4 separate regions of the Homo sapiens genome follow, and regions 2, 3 and 4 are each linked to region 1. Evidence: promoter capture Hi-C in 16 types of primary human blood cells and fetal thymus (Javierre and others, 2016). All regions are on one chromosome and are shown on one strand. Each heading gives the region's core, a stretch centred on a gene start or on the middle of the fragment in contact. The rest is flanking DNA. Distances are from core to core; before and after follow the strand shown. Region 1 holds the start of CHDH (choline dehydrogenase). Region 2 has its middle 35 kb from the start of DCP1A. Region 3 overlaps DCP1A (decapping mRNA 1A). Region 4 overlaps LOC105377094 (a long non-coding RNA gene).

The links. The method cuts DNA at HindIII sites, captures the fragments that hold promoters and counts their contacts. A CHiCAGO score of 5 or more calls a contact.
Region 2: a contact is called between a fragment that was not itself captured here and the fragment with the promoter of CHDH in region 1, in 3 of 17 cell types (M1 macrophages, M0 macrophages and M2 macrophages). The highest score is 6.6, in M1 macrophages.
Region 3: a contact is called between a fragment that was not itself captured here and the fragment with the promoter of CHDH in region 1, in 1 of 17 cell types (M2 macrophages). The highest score is 6.4, in M2 macrophages.
Region 4: a fragment that was not itself captured here is called in contact with the fragment with the promoter of CHDH in region 1 in 2 of 17 cell types (M1 macrophages and M0 macrophages); the score reaches 6.2 in M1 macrophages.

What each region holds. Positions count from the first base shown.
Region 1 is chr3:53,844,407-53,847,668 of GRCh38, forward strand. It overlaps CHDH (choline dehydrogenase), which reads right to left and starts at 2,013. Exons shown (of 9, transcript NM_018397.5): 1 at 1,677-2,013. IL17RB (interleukin 17 receptor B) reads left to right here and starts at 2,162. Exons shown (of 11, transcript NM_018725.4): 1 at 2,162-2,242. The coding sequence starts at 2,183. RefSeq lists enhancers at 288-1,128, 1,129-1,969, 1,916-2,210 and a silencer at 1,561-2,210. The HindIII fragment of the contact is 5,797 bases long and covers 1-3,262 here.
Region 2 is chr3:53,381,251-53,384,450 of GRCh38, forward strand. No RefSeq gene overlaps it. Among named protein-coding and RNA genes, the nearest start is that of DCP1A, 35 kb to the left of the region's middle. The HindIII fragment of the contact is 378 bases long and covers 1,590-1,967 here.
Region 3 is chr3:53,338,483-53,341,781 of GRCh38, forward strand. The region is part of intron 3 of DCP1A (decapping mRNA 1A); the gene reads right to left. Among named protein-coding and RNA genes, the nearest start is that of SNORD38C, 7.0 kb to the left of the region's middle. The HindIII fragment of the contact is 5,444 bases long and covers 1-3,299 here.
Region 4 is chr3:53,362,131-53,365,596 of GRCh38, forward strand. All of the region lies in intron 1 of LOC105377094 (a long non-coding RNA gene), which reads right to left. Among named protein-coding and RNA genes, the nearest start is that of DCP1A, 16 kb to the left of the region's middle. The HindIII fragment of the contact is 1,361 bases long and covers 1,266-2,626 here.

The DNA of each region.
Region 1 (3,262 bases), core at 763-3,262:
CTCTCTGCCCCATCTGACCCCATGAGCTCCTCCCTCACTACTGGGCTTTCCTGCTGCAGCCCCTTAGACCTCCCCACCTCCTCAGGCAAGCTCTCCTCCCCAGGGCTCTATCCTCCTCTCCTCTCCACTGCCCCCTGAGAAAGTCTGACTCATGAACCCTGTCTCCAGGCCTAACCTCCGCACCCTGGTTGTCTCAAAGCCTGTGTGCCGAACAACACCAAGCTCACAGCAGGGCCTGCCCTGGCACACAACTGAAAAGCCAGCACAGCCCAGAGCCTGGCCCACAGCACAGAATCAGATACTCACGGAATGAACGCATGTTAGTGAATGGCTGCCTGCTCGCTCGTCTCAGAGGGACTAGCCCTCTATTTTGCCCTGCAGAGCCAACCAGGTGGCCTTTCTAAAACCAAAAATGGATGACCATTTAAGCCTGTACCATTGTTCCTCAGCACCATGGGACAAAGTTCACAATCTTGAGCTTGCAGACGAGGCTGTTTTCATCTGGGCTTCCGCAGCAAGGCGGGTACTTGTGTCCTTGAAAATAATTCTCACTGCACTCATCCTCACTCCAGGAGTACCCATCAGCCAGCACCCATGTGTGGTTCACCTTTGCACCCAGCAGGTATTTGCTGAACAGGAAGATGACTATTAGAGCTGAAAATGTTCTCAAGGGCCACAGGGCCCAAAGCAACTCAGAGAGGTGGAATGAGGGGCTCAGGGTGGCCCAGTCCCAGGCAGGGGTGCGGCCACAACCTCAACTGAGTTCCTTGGTCAGGAAACAGAGCAATTCTCTGAAAATGCTACCTGCAACTCCACACGTATGCATGCCAGAGCCCAAACCCCTGGCTGATCCCCAGTCCATGCAAGCCTTAATCAAGCTGGCAGGTGGGCCAGGCCTGGCACACAAGTAGGGCCTCAGCTAAAACAGCTGCTTGACTTAGTACAGCCTCTCACCAGCTGACAACACACCCCTAAGTTCCATACCCCTCTCTAGGCCTCCGTCTTCTCATCTGTAGAATGGAGCTAATTCTGCCTACAAGTTTAAATGGCCCTGAGTTGGTCACCACAACCCTGTCGTTTGCAAACCGAGGGGGCTGAAGCAGCAGTTCCAGCCTCTGTGACTCCACTGTTAGCCCAGCTGATTTTTGTGAACTTTCCCCCAAACCCACTGTGTCTCAAAGGATGGTCCCTGGGCCACCCACCCACGAATTACGGGGGCGTGGGTGGAGGCTCGTTAAATGCAGATCCCGGGCCTGACCCGGACCTGCCGTCTGGATCTCATTTTAGGCGGCGCTAGAGATCCCGGGCCAGGGAAACTTGAGAACCGCAGCTCCAAATCGCCAGTGCTGACGGCTTCCGCTTTGGGAGCCCCAGGTGTTGCTGTCCGAACTCACTTGGTGGAAACAGACATTTACCAGAAAGCCTGGGGTCGGGCAGCGGGCACTCCTACCGCTCTAACCCCGCGTAGCTGAAAGAATTCGCTCCCTCAAAGGAGTCAGTGAGCTTCGGCAGTCTGCGTTCCACCCGTTTCGCTTCGCGCGGCGGGGCGATTGTGTAAAGCGGGCCCGGGTCTCGGCGTCCAGCCCGGCCCCAAACCTCCGGCCCCCAGGCCTCTCCGGGCTAGCGGCCGGGCGGCGCTGCTGCGGGGTGGTCGGGGCGCCTCCGCGGCTACTCACCCGGGGCGACTCGGCCGAGAGCCCGACAGTCGGGACCGGAGCGGGAGGAGCGGGTGGCCGCGGCCCGGCCCCTGCCCCGCGGCACTTTAACCGGCGGCGCCGGCGCCCCGCGCGCTCTCTGCGTCCGGAATGGGGACGCAGCAGTTCCGACCCGGTCGGCCCCGGAGCCGCGAGGCTAGCTGGGCTCCAGCGGAGGCGCGCGAAGCCCGAGGGCGGGTGCAGCTGATGCACCTGGCTCACTGCATGCACGTGTGCGCGGGGGTAGGCGCGCGCCGCGGCGGCCCGTGCTCCGCCAGCGCTCGGACACGGCCCATCCCTCCGAGCCCCAGCAGGCGAGGGCGCTGCGACCTGCCCCAGCCTGGGAGGGGGCCAGCGGGCCCGCCCTCTGTTCGGGTGGCGGGAATGGGTCGGCGCTGCGAGAGGCGGAGCCGAGAAGGGGCGGCCCGGCGGCGCCGGGATAAAAGCGCAGCGTGCGGGTGGCCTGGATCCCGCGCAGTGGCCCGGCGATGTCGCTCGTGCTGCTAAGCCTGGCCGCGCTGTGCAGGAGCGCCGTACCCCGAGAGCCGGTAAGCCCCCGCCAGCACCTCTTCCCTCATCTCCCGGCCCTCGAGCCCAGATCCTGACGTCGTCTGATCCGCCAGTCCAGGCTGCCCCGAAGGCGTGCGCGGACTGCCGGCTCAAGGGGCATGCCTGCACCCTCAGGGCAGCCCCGGACATCGGCGTCAGGTTGCTTGAGTCAGGGGCGTGGGAATCAGACAGACCCGGTCTCAGATGCCACCCTGTACTGTTGGTTCTGTCATTTATGCTCACCAAGTTCCAAGTCCCGAACGGTAAAACGAAGGGCAGTACCGAACCCACCAGGGTCTCTTAAGGTATAACGACATGGCCTGCAATTAGCGGCGAAGGGCCTGGCACGTAGTTATTGTTACTTGGGGTCTGCTCACCTGTTGGGGCACAAGAACTGTTTCTCCATTAGTACCCCCTCCCTTTTTGGCCATATTGATTGCCATGTTCACTCGTGAAGGCAGTTGCCTTTCTTCCCCAGTACCCTGAATGATCGAGGGAATCTTCTGGGTCACTGAAGAGAAAATAGCTCATCCCCCAAATAACCTTTGAAATGATACCGCTGCCCTCTTAGAATAGCATATAGCATCAAGCTCCGTAGTCACCTGCTGGTGGACAAACCCCATTCACTGTTTCCTGATGTCTTCAGCTCCTATCCTTCCCCTCTGTGTCAGTTCAGAAGCCCTCTTGGCTCTTTGCACTAAAGGGAAGAATTCATCCCTTTTGCTGTAGTTGCTGCAAGGCCAACAATTTGAGCTTGGTAGCATTTAGGGTTGTTGCTTGGCCTCTCACCGGCCGTTTGATAAGAACTCAGCTCCTGGTATGATGGCTCATTTGTTAAAAAAAAAAAAAAAAAGTCAAGTCTGGCCGGGCTCGGTGGCTCACGCCTGTAATCCCAGCACTTTGGGAGGCTGAGGCGGCCGGATTGCCTGAGGTCAGGAGTTTGGGAACAGCCTGGCTAACATGGTGAAACCCCGTCTCTACTAAAAATACAAAAAGTAGCCGGGCATGGTGGCAGGCGC
Region 2 (3,200 bases), core at 529-3,028, 460 kb before region 1:
ATTTTCTTTATATTTTTGTGACCTTTGTAACCAGGGAGCTTTGGCATGATAGTCATCTTAAATAAATCAAAACATGATTTAATAAAAATGCCATTTTACAAAACTATAACTCTTAGCAGGAAACATAGGTGTAAATCTTCATGACGTTGGAGTAGGCAACAGTTCCTTAAACATGACACCAAAGGCATAAGCAACAAAAGAAGAAACAGGTCAATTAAACTTTATCAAAATAAAAAACTTCTGTGCAGAAAAGGACTATCAAGAAAGCAAGAAGCCTGGGCATGGTGGCTCATCCCTATAATCCCAGCACTTTGGGATCCTGAGGTGAGAGGATCACGTGAAGCCAGGAGTTTGAAACCAATGTGGGTAACTTAGTGAGACCTCATCTCTGCAAAACATTGTTTTTAAATTTAAAAATTAGCCTGGCATGGTGGTGTGCCTGTAGTCCCAGCTATTCAGGAGGCTGAGGTGGGAGGATCACTTGAGCCCGGGAGGTTGAGGCTGCAGTGAGTCGTGATCACACCACCTCTGCACTGCAGCCTGGGGACCCTGTCTCAAAAAAAAAAAAAAAAAAAAAGACAACTCACAGAATGGGAGAAAACATTTGTAAATAAAATATTTGTAAATCTTATCTCTGATTAGGATCTAGTATCCAAAATATATTTAAACAACTCATAAAAGAATAAAAAGACAACTGCATTTAAAAATGGGCAAAGAATCTGAACAGACATTTCTCCAAAGCAGATATACAGATGGCCAATAAGAACATAAAATGATGCTCAACATCATTAGTCATTAGGGAAATAAATCAAAACCACAGTAAGATACTACTTCACACCCACTGGGATGGCTATGATGAAAAAAAAAAAGAAACACCAGAAAATAAGTGTTAGCAAGGATGTCGAGAAATTAGAACACTCATAACATTGCTGGTGGGAAGGCAAAATCCTCAGCCACTTCAGGAAACAGTCTGGGAGTTCCTTATAAGGTTAAACAGTTACCTTATAACCCAGAAATTCCATTCCTAAGTATATACTCAAGACAACCGAAAACATACATTCACACAAGAACTTGTGCATGAATGCTCATAACAGCATTACTCATAACAGCATTACTTATGAATGCTCATAACAGCATTACTCACAATAGTCAAAAGAAGGAAACAACCCAAATGGCCACCAGCTGATGAATGGAGAAACAAAATGTGGCACACAGTGGAATATTATTTAGCCATAAAAAGAAACGAAATACCGATGCATGCTAGAACGTGAATGAACCTTGAAAACATTATGCTAAGCTAGAGAAGCCAGACAGAAAGGGCCACATACTGTATGATTAAATTTATAGGAAATATCCAGAATAGGCAAATCCAGAGAGACAAAGTAGATTAGTGATTGACGGGGGATGGGTGGAGGGAGGAATTGGGAGCACCTGCTAACAGGTATAGGGTTAATTCTTGGTGTGATAGAAATGTTCTGCAGTTAGATGGTGGTGATGGTTGTATAACTCCATGAATTTGCCACTGAATTATACATTTCAAAATGTTTAAAATGGTGAAAATTTTATCTCAATAAAAATAGTATTCTACAAGCTTTAAGTGATACATATATTTGAATCATCTAATTTAAATTAAGTTTCTGTGTTCTGTTTTTTTTTTAAAGAGATAGGGTCTTGCTCTGTTGCCCAGGCTGCAGTGCAGTGGCACAATCATAGCTCACTGCAGCCTCAAACTCCTGGACTTAAGCAATCTTCCTGCCTCAGCCTCCCAAGTAGCTCAGACTACAGGCATGTGCCACCACACCTGACTAATTTTGAAAAATTGTTTGTAGTGATAGGGTCTCACTATGTTCCCTAGGCTTGTTTCGAAATCCTGGGCTCAAGCTATCCTCCTGCTTCGGCCTCCCAAAGTGTTGGGATTACAGGCGCAAGCCACCGCACACAGCCTTCTGTGTTCTTTATTGCAAGCAAGCTTTGTTTCTTTTTTATAGTCTGTCAGGGTTTGATTTTGAGGCAACTCCAGGTTGGGGTTTGGGCATATGCTTGTTGAATTTTATGTGGTTGTTATACCTCACCTCCTGCCCAGCTAGTTTATAGTCTCACTTTCAGAAGATAGTAAGGGAATCTGGCCATCACTAAAATCATGTCTACCTAATGGCAAAACATTTGGTGAATTTCATTTAAAAAATCAAGCTGCAAAAACTAGACTCTTAGAAGTCAAGATTGTGGTTGCCCTTGGTGGGGGGATGCAGATGATAATAATTTGTAAGGAAACATGAGGGAGGTTTCTGCAGTGCTAGGGATATTCTATTTTGCTGGATGCTGGTTACAGGGGTGTGTTTGATTTGTGAAAATTCATCTTGTGGTACACTTACACAATGTGCACTGTTCTGCATGTTTGTTATACTTCAATACCAAGTTCATAATTCAATTCAACCTCCAGATAGGTATGTATGATATCAACAAATTGGTGTAATTAACTGGGTACCAGAGTTCACTAACTTGGCCTGCTGCCTTAGAGATGACACCCAGCCATGGCCATGGATTCCAAAAGGTTTTGTTTCCATGGACAGCTGCGTAGGTCAGAGCTCTGCACCAGGGCCCTGTCATCCTCACCATCTCCTAACAATGGATTTCAACAGCAAGGCCATGGCTCAGCTGTGCCTCCTATGTATTGGGGCTGCTGGAATGTAAACCCCCTGGAGGAGGCGATGCTCTGAGTCAGGAGTAGCACTACCAGGCAGGTGTGCCCCACTCCCTGCTCTGCCACTGGTGCCAGACCCCCAGAAGCTACCATGGAGCTTGCCCTTTCCACCTGGACCCAGAGATGTCATGGTGGGTGCCCATGACAAACTGACCCAACTGGTATTCTAGTGGCCTCAGGCCCACAATACTAGATCTAAAGTATTCCATGCTAAATGTATTTCAGCATTAAGGTATTTTTGAATTTTAGAAAGGTGATACATTGCATTTAGTATATGTTATACCATACTGCCAACATGGTCTGGGGTAGCTTTCTGTAATCAGACAGTGATGAATTTTTCCACTAAAGGGAATGAAGACTACAAATAGTCTCATTTCAATTCAGTCCAATGTGTGCTACTAAATGAGTTTGTGTCAAACTTCAAAAAGTTTTTTAGGCTGGGTGCAGTGGGTCATGCCTGTAATCCCAGCACTTTGGGAGGTTGAGGTGGGAGGATTGC
Region 3 (3,299 bases), core at 713-3,212, 510 kb before region 1:
CCCTTAGTCAGTGTAAGAATTTTCTCTTTAAGATTTTATCTTTTTCTTGAGGGGTGGGGTGGGTGTAGATGGGCATGTTTTATAAAGAAAAACTCTTGGCTGGGCGCGGTGGCTCACTCCTGTAATCCCAGCACTTTGGAAGGCCAAGGCAGGTGGATCACGAGGTCAGGAGATCGAGACCATCCTAGCTAACACGGTGAAACCCCGTCTCTACTAAAAATAGAAAAAATTAGCCGGGCGTGGTGGTGGGCGCCTGTAGTCCCAGCTACTCGGGAGGCTGAGGCAGGAGAATGGCGTGAACCTGGGAGGCAGAGCTTGCAGTGAGCCAAGATCATGCCACTGCACTCCAGCCTGGGTGACAGAGCAAGGCTCCGTCTCAAAAAAAAAAAAAAAGAAAAACTCTTAAAAATAAATAAAACAAATAACTTAGAACTGAAAAAAAGTTATGGTTCACTGTTCTAGTACATTAACTCCAAAAATTAATTTGAATGAAAGAAGTTGGATATGAAGGTGTCACTTGAGTTAAATGGGTCAGGTGTCTTGATGGTATTTCCCACAAGAGAATGGCAGAAGTGCAGCTATAGAATCAGGTATAATTACCTGTATGCATAATCAGATACTAACTTTTTATTTAAAGAACAAATCCCTAAACAACTTAATAGCTCGCTGACCTGACAAGACTATTTTCCACTTTTAAGACTATGTAGACAAAACACACACTCGAGAGGGCTTAACACTCACAAAATCATTTTCTGTTGTCTTATCACTTCTCCCCAATACAGCTATTCCTTTAAATACTTTCCCTAATGAAATGACCTGGTTAAGTGAGTTTTCTGTTCAACTAAGAAAACTTTTGTTTCAATCAGTTGAAAATTTTCTAAAGTAAAATGCATTAATGCACTTTCTCCCCAAGAATGTTCTAGTTAACATAATAAATACTCCTGATGATTTTAGGTCTCACTATAACAATTTAACCTATGATACTACAGTGGAGTTAAAGTTATAAAATATTGACATTTTAATGCCGACCCCAGGTTATTCTCTGGATATCTGCTTGATTTTCAGAAAATAAAACCTAGTATTAGCTTGTTTTCTTATAATTTGCCTTCATTTCTTCCACACACGAACTATAAAAATATTTCCAGACAACTGAAGCTCTAATTAGTTAGCTTCTGGTTACTCATGGTTCAATTACATTTGTGTTATGTCACACTTTCAATTTCACAGGACTTTTGCCTTGTGAAAAAAATATAATACAATTCATCTCAGGTTTATGCTAAATGGTAACTGGGTCCGGATAACTTTCCCTACTGACTACTTTAATAATCAAACCACTTAGGAGTGATGGCTAGATTAAGTTTCCAGGCAGTAAAGAACAGAATTAAGCCTATTTCACTTAAAAAAAAATTGGATCCATATTCATTTGCAGAATTTCTCCCACCCTCTTTTCATTTTTTGAGTCAGGGTCTCGCTTGTTGCCCAGGCTGGAGTGCAGTGGCGCAATCATGGCTCACTGCAGCCTGGACAGCCTCCTGGGTTCAAGCGACTTTCCCACCTCAGCCTCCTGGGTAGCTGGGACTACAAGTGTGTGACACCACACCTGGCTAATTTTTCTATTTTTTTGTGGAGTGGGGGTTTTGACATGTTGCCCAGGCTGGTCTCAAACTCCTGGGCTCAAGCAATCTGCTTGCCTCGGTCTCCCAAAATCGTGGGATTGCAGGTGTTGAGCCACTTTGCCCAGCCGAATTTTCCCTTTAATGGAATATTCAGTACAAAGAAAAGAGCAATCTGAAATAATTACATTGTTAACATTAGTTTAAATAAATCCATCTGAACTTACAGCTATTACAAAGCATGTCTAATATGTCCACAGAATTTAAAATCTGAGAGGTAATTACCTGGACAAATAGTTTACTGAGAAGTCAAAAGATAGAACCTATTTCACTTATACTTCAAAGTGTGCTACGGAAAAGAACTTGGGGGTTTCTAGCTTTAAAATAGGCCTTGTTACTTCTCATTCAGGGAATTAAGAGGTGTATAATTTTTAGTAACTTTTTCTATTTTATACTGAAGACATCCCCCAAGACCAATTACCCCCCCGCCAAGTGAAATTCAAACACATTAACTTTTACTTTTTAAGTTAGAAGCAACATTTCTCCAACTATATCCTTAGATGCCAATTAGAGCACAATCATTGTTACCATAACCAGTTTTCATATCCCTATAGTCAATGTCCAACAAACTGTCCTCAAACACCCATACCTTCAATATCCATACTAATACACTGGAATCAAGTATATTTTTTAGTACTGTAGTTTCTTGGAAGGGCCACTCTAGCTTTGCTGACTACATCCAATCGTTATTAGAGATTGTAAAAATGCCTGAAAGAACCCTGGACTAAAAAGCAGAAGAATAGTCATAATCCTAACTCTCCAACAGGGTAATAGTTATGCATCTCTGAGTCTCAGTTGACTTAACTGCCTGCTTACACCACATAGGTAACTGTATCGTTAACATTAAAGCACCACAGCTCTTGGCTCAGTGCTGGTAACCAGTAGACACTCAATTAAATAAACAGATAGAAAAACCTTACTTAGAAACATATTCAGACAAAATAAAGTAGAAAAAGTAATAAATATCTTAAAAAAAAAAACCCATCACCACTATTCTGGGCAAAAATAATATTTTCTGGCCGGGCGTGGTGGCTCATGCCTATAATCCCAGCATTTTGGGAGGCCGAGGCAGGCAGATCACAAGGTCAGGAGATCAAGACCATCCTGGCTAACACGGTGAAACCCCTTCTCTACCAAAAATACAAAAAAATTAGCCAGGCGTGGTGGCGGGTGCCTGTAGTCCCAGCTACTTGGGAGGCCGAGCCAGGAGAAGGGCATGAATCCGGGAGGCAGAGCTTGCATGAGCCTAGATCACACCACTGCACTCCAGCCTGGGCAACAGAGCAAGACTCCGTCTCAAAAAAAAGAAAATAATAATAGTAATAATAATACTTTCTTTGTGGAAAGAATTATCTGTATCTGTTCCCATCCTGTGTGTCCCAAACTAAGTTCTGTTGCTTAGGGACATGGGCAGCTGATAGTCCACAGCTGCAAAAAAACAAAGGCATAAACCTTATTTTAATAAACCGACAACAGAAATGTAGTGCTATTAAATGAAATAGTAAACTAAATTATATACAAAAGAATGTTTCCAGTTTCAGAGCCCAGTTTATTTATTTATTTTTTTGAGACACAGTCTCATTCTGTTGCCCAGGCTGGAGTACAGTGGCGCGATCTCAGCTCACT
Region 4 (3,466 bases), core at 696-3,195, 480 kb before region 1:
TGAAATGTTAAAAGCTAAGGGAGAAAACACAGACTTGGCTTCCCTATCAACTTCTACTCAATTTTTAAATCTTGTTTTATTTATTTATTTATTTATTTATTTTTAAAGACAGGGTCTCGCTCTGTCACTTAGGCTGGAGTGCAGTGGTGTGATCATGGTTCACTGCAGCCTCAACCTCCTGGGCTCCAGTGATCCTCTCACCCCAGCCTCCCAAGTAGCTGGGACCACAGGCATGCATCACCATGCCTGGCTTATTTTTTAACTTTTGTTGTAGAGTCGGGGGTCTCACTCTGTTGCCCGGGCTGGTCTCAAACTCCTGGCCTCAAGTGATCCTCCCGCCTTGGCCTCCCAAAGTGATTACAGGCATGAGACACCACTGCCCTGACTGAATCAGTTTTATTTAAAGCCATCACCATCAGATATTTGTATGGTGTGCTAAAATACTTTTTTTTTTTTTTTTTGAGACCAGGTCTCGCTCTGTTGCCCAGGCTGGAGTACAGTGGCGCGATCTCAGCTCACTGCAGCCTCTGCCTTCCTGGTTCAAGCAATTCTCCCACCTTGGCTGGGATTACAGGAGCACGCCACCATGCCCAGCTAATTTTTACATTTTTAGTAGAGTTGGGGTTTCACCATGTTGGCCAGGCTGGTCTCGAACTCCCGACCTTAGGTGATCCATCTGCCTTGGCCTCCCAAAGTGCTGGGATTACAGGTATGAGCCACCATCCCTGGCCAATATTTTTAACTTTAAACCAAAAACATAGTCAATATGCTTTTGAGGACTCAGTAGTGTTTCTTCCAATAAACATTTATGCATTTCAATTTTTGATCACATCCATGGTAGATTTATTAGAAATTATTGTGATTCTTTGGAAAAGCATTTATAGAAGTATGGAAGTATGGAAGTGTAGAAGTATAAAGAGGCCAAAGTTTACATGATGAACACATTAGGTAGTTCAATTTTGAATAGACAAAACAATCTTGGGCCTACAGTTCCAGGATAATAATACTGATAAACTATATCAGAGCTCTGCCACAATGAACAAAGCACCATGCTTTTGGTACTTTGATCTTCAATATATTCCCTGCTATATTAACCCATTATGTAGAATGTCCATATATATTATCTCCTTTAACTCAATCCGGGACAGGGCAAGTATGATTACCCTTGTTTTATTTAGGGAAAAATGGGCAGTTCGATATATGAAATGACAGAGCCTGTGTGCAGAGGTGGACCCAGCATTTACCACCACAGCATTCATCCCACAAGCTTGTTCTTCCTCACGACTCATCTGGGATCTTAACCCTTTGGCTTCCAAGAAATCACTTAGCAAAACCCATAAACAAATGCTAATGGACTCATGGTGGTCTAGAGGGCCATTGCCAGGTATTATGTATTTTACCTGATCTATCCTACTACTGGCTTTTATAGTGGATGTTTCACCAAAGCATGAAAGATAGTTTTTTGCTAGCAAAATAATAAAACTGAGCTGTGAAACAAGAAAGGAGAAATCCATAAAAATTCTAGTGTCCATAAAATTTTATTAGATAGCATAAGAACTCTGGGAACTATTTTTGAAAGATCCTTGTGATTGACCTAACTCTTAATTTTGTGACTGGAGCTGGCGTTGCTTTGGAGCTAGCCACAGGTTTCCTTGTCTCCTGCCTCCTCAGTGCTGAGTAACTCAGTGCATTCACTCCCACAGAACTGGACTTTGGAAGGTCTGTTTTTGGCTTTGCCTCCTCTGCAGATGGGGTGCAACCAAGTCAAGATGCTTCCTCTGGAATGGAGTTAATTCTGGATATCTTAGGAACATATCTGGATTCCAATCTGTGGAATGTCCATGATTTTTCTTTTTTTTCTTCCTGTTACCATTTATCTTCTCATTAAAATTTCCATGGTGGCATATGCCTGTAATCCCAGCAGTTGGGGATGCTAATGTGGGAGGATTGCTTGGGACTAGGAGTTTGAGGCTGCAGTGAGCCATGATTGTGCCACTGCACTCCAGCCCAGGCAACAGAGCGAGACCCTATCTCAAACAACAAACGAACAAAAAATTTTCATCAGGTAATTAGGAGTTAGAAAAAGAAGTTAGAAGAGGGGGGAACTAGCAATATAAAGTAGTATATGGTCCTGATATCTAGGGCTGGGTGTCCGGATGAAGAGCGCTCAGAGAAGCTATTACAGAAAAGGCAGTAACGCAACTGAGCCTTGGTGAATGGATAGGGTTAGGATAGCCTGAGAGGACAGGAGAAGATGCCACATCCAATTGTTTTTCTTTCTTTTTTTTTTTTTTTTTCTTTTTGAGACAGAGTGTCACTCTGTTGGCCAGGCTGGAGTGCAATGGCACGACCTCGGCTCACTGCAACCTCGGTCTCCCTGGCTCAAGCAATTCTCCTGCCTCAGTCTCCCGAGTAGCTGGGATTACGGGCATGTGCCACCACGCCTGGCTAATTTTTGCAGTTTTAGTAGATATGGGGTTTCACCATGTTGGCCAGGCTGGTCTCGAACTCCTGACCTCAGGTGATCCGCCCGCCTCGGCCTCCCAAAGTGCTGGGATTACAGGCGTGAGCCACCGCGCCTGGCTTCTTTCTTTTTTTAAGAGACAGGGTCTCACTCTGTCACCCAAGCTTTTGTGTTCAGTGGTGTGATCATGGCTCACTGTAACTTCCAACTGCTGGGCTCAAGTGATCATCCTGTCTCAGCTCCCCAAGTAGCTGGAACTACAGGCACACATCACAACACCTGGCTGATTTTTGATTTTTTTTTCCAGAGATGGGGGTCTTGCCATGTTGCCCAGGCTGGTCTTGAACTCCTGGGCTCAAGTGATCCTCTCACCTCAGCCTTCTGATTAGCTGGGATTACAGGTGTTAACCACTGCACCTGGCCAATTCTTTTTTGTTGTTTTTGTTTCAGAGAAAATCATATGAATTCTCTTTGAGGTTACACTCTTTTGGACTATGTCTTGGGCAGAACTTCTTCTTTTTTCCTATTTGCTGTGATATGTTTGATATGTTAAAGCAGTGTCTCACTGAAAGCTTTAAGACACCTAGCATCTGAGCATTCTAAATCAGAAACTCAAATAATCTTGGCTTTTCCATCTGATGGCTGGCCCCTTGGAAGAAGTCATTTAACTTGTCTGGATCTGTTTTCTTTTTTTTTTTTTTCTTTTTTTTTTTATTATTATTATACTTTAAGTTTTAGGGTACATGTGCACATTGTGCAGGTTAGTTACATATGTATACATGTGCCATGCTGGTGCGCTGCACCCACTAACTCGTCATCTAGCATTAGGTATATCTCCCAATGCTATCCCTCCCCCATCCCCCGACCCCACCACAGTCCCCAGAGTGTGATATTCCCCTTCCTGTGTCCATGTGATCTCATTGTTCAGTTCCCACCTATGAGTGAGAATATGCGGTGTTTGGTTTTTTGTTCTTGCGATAGTTTACTGAGAATGATGGTTTC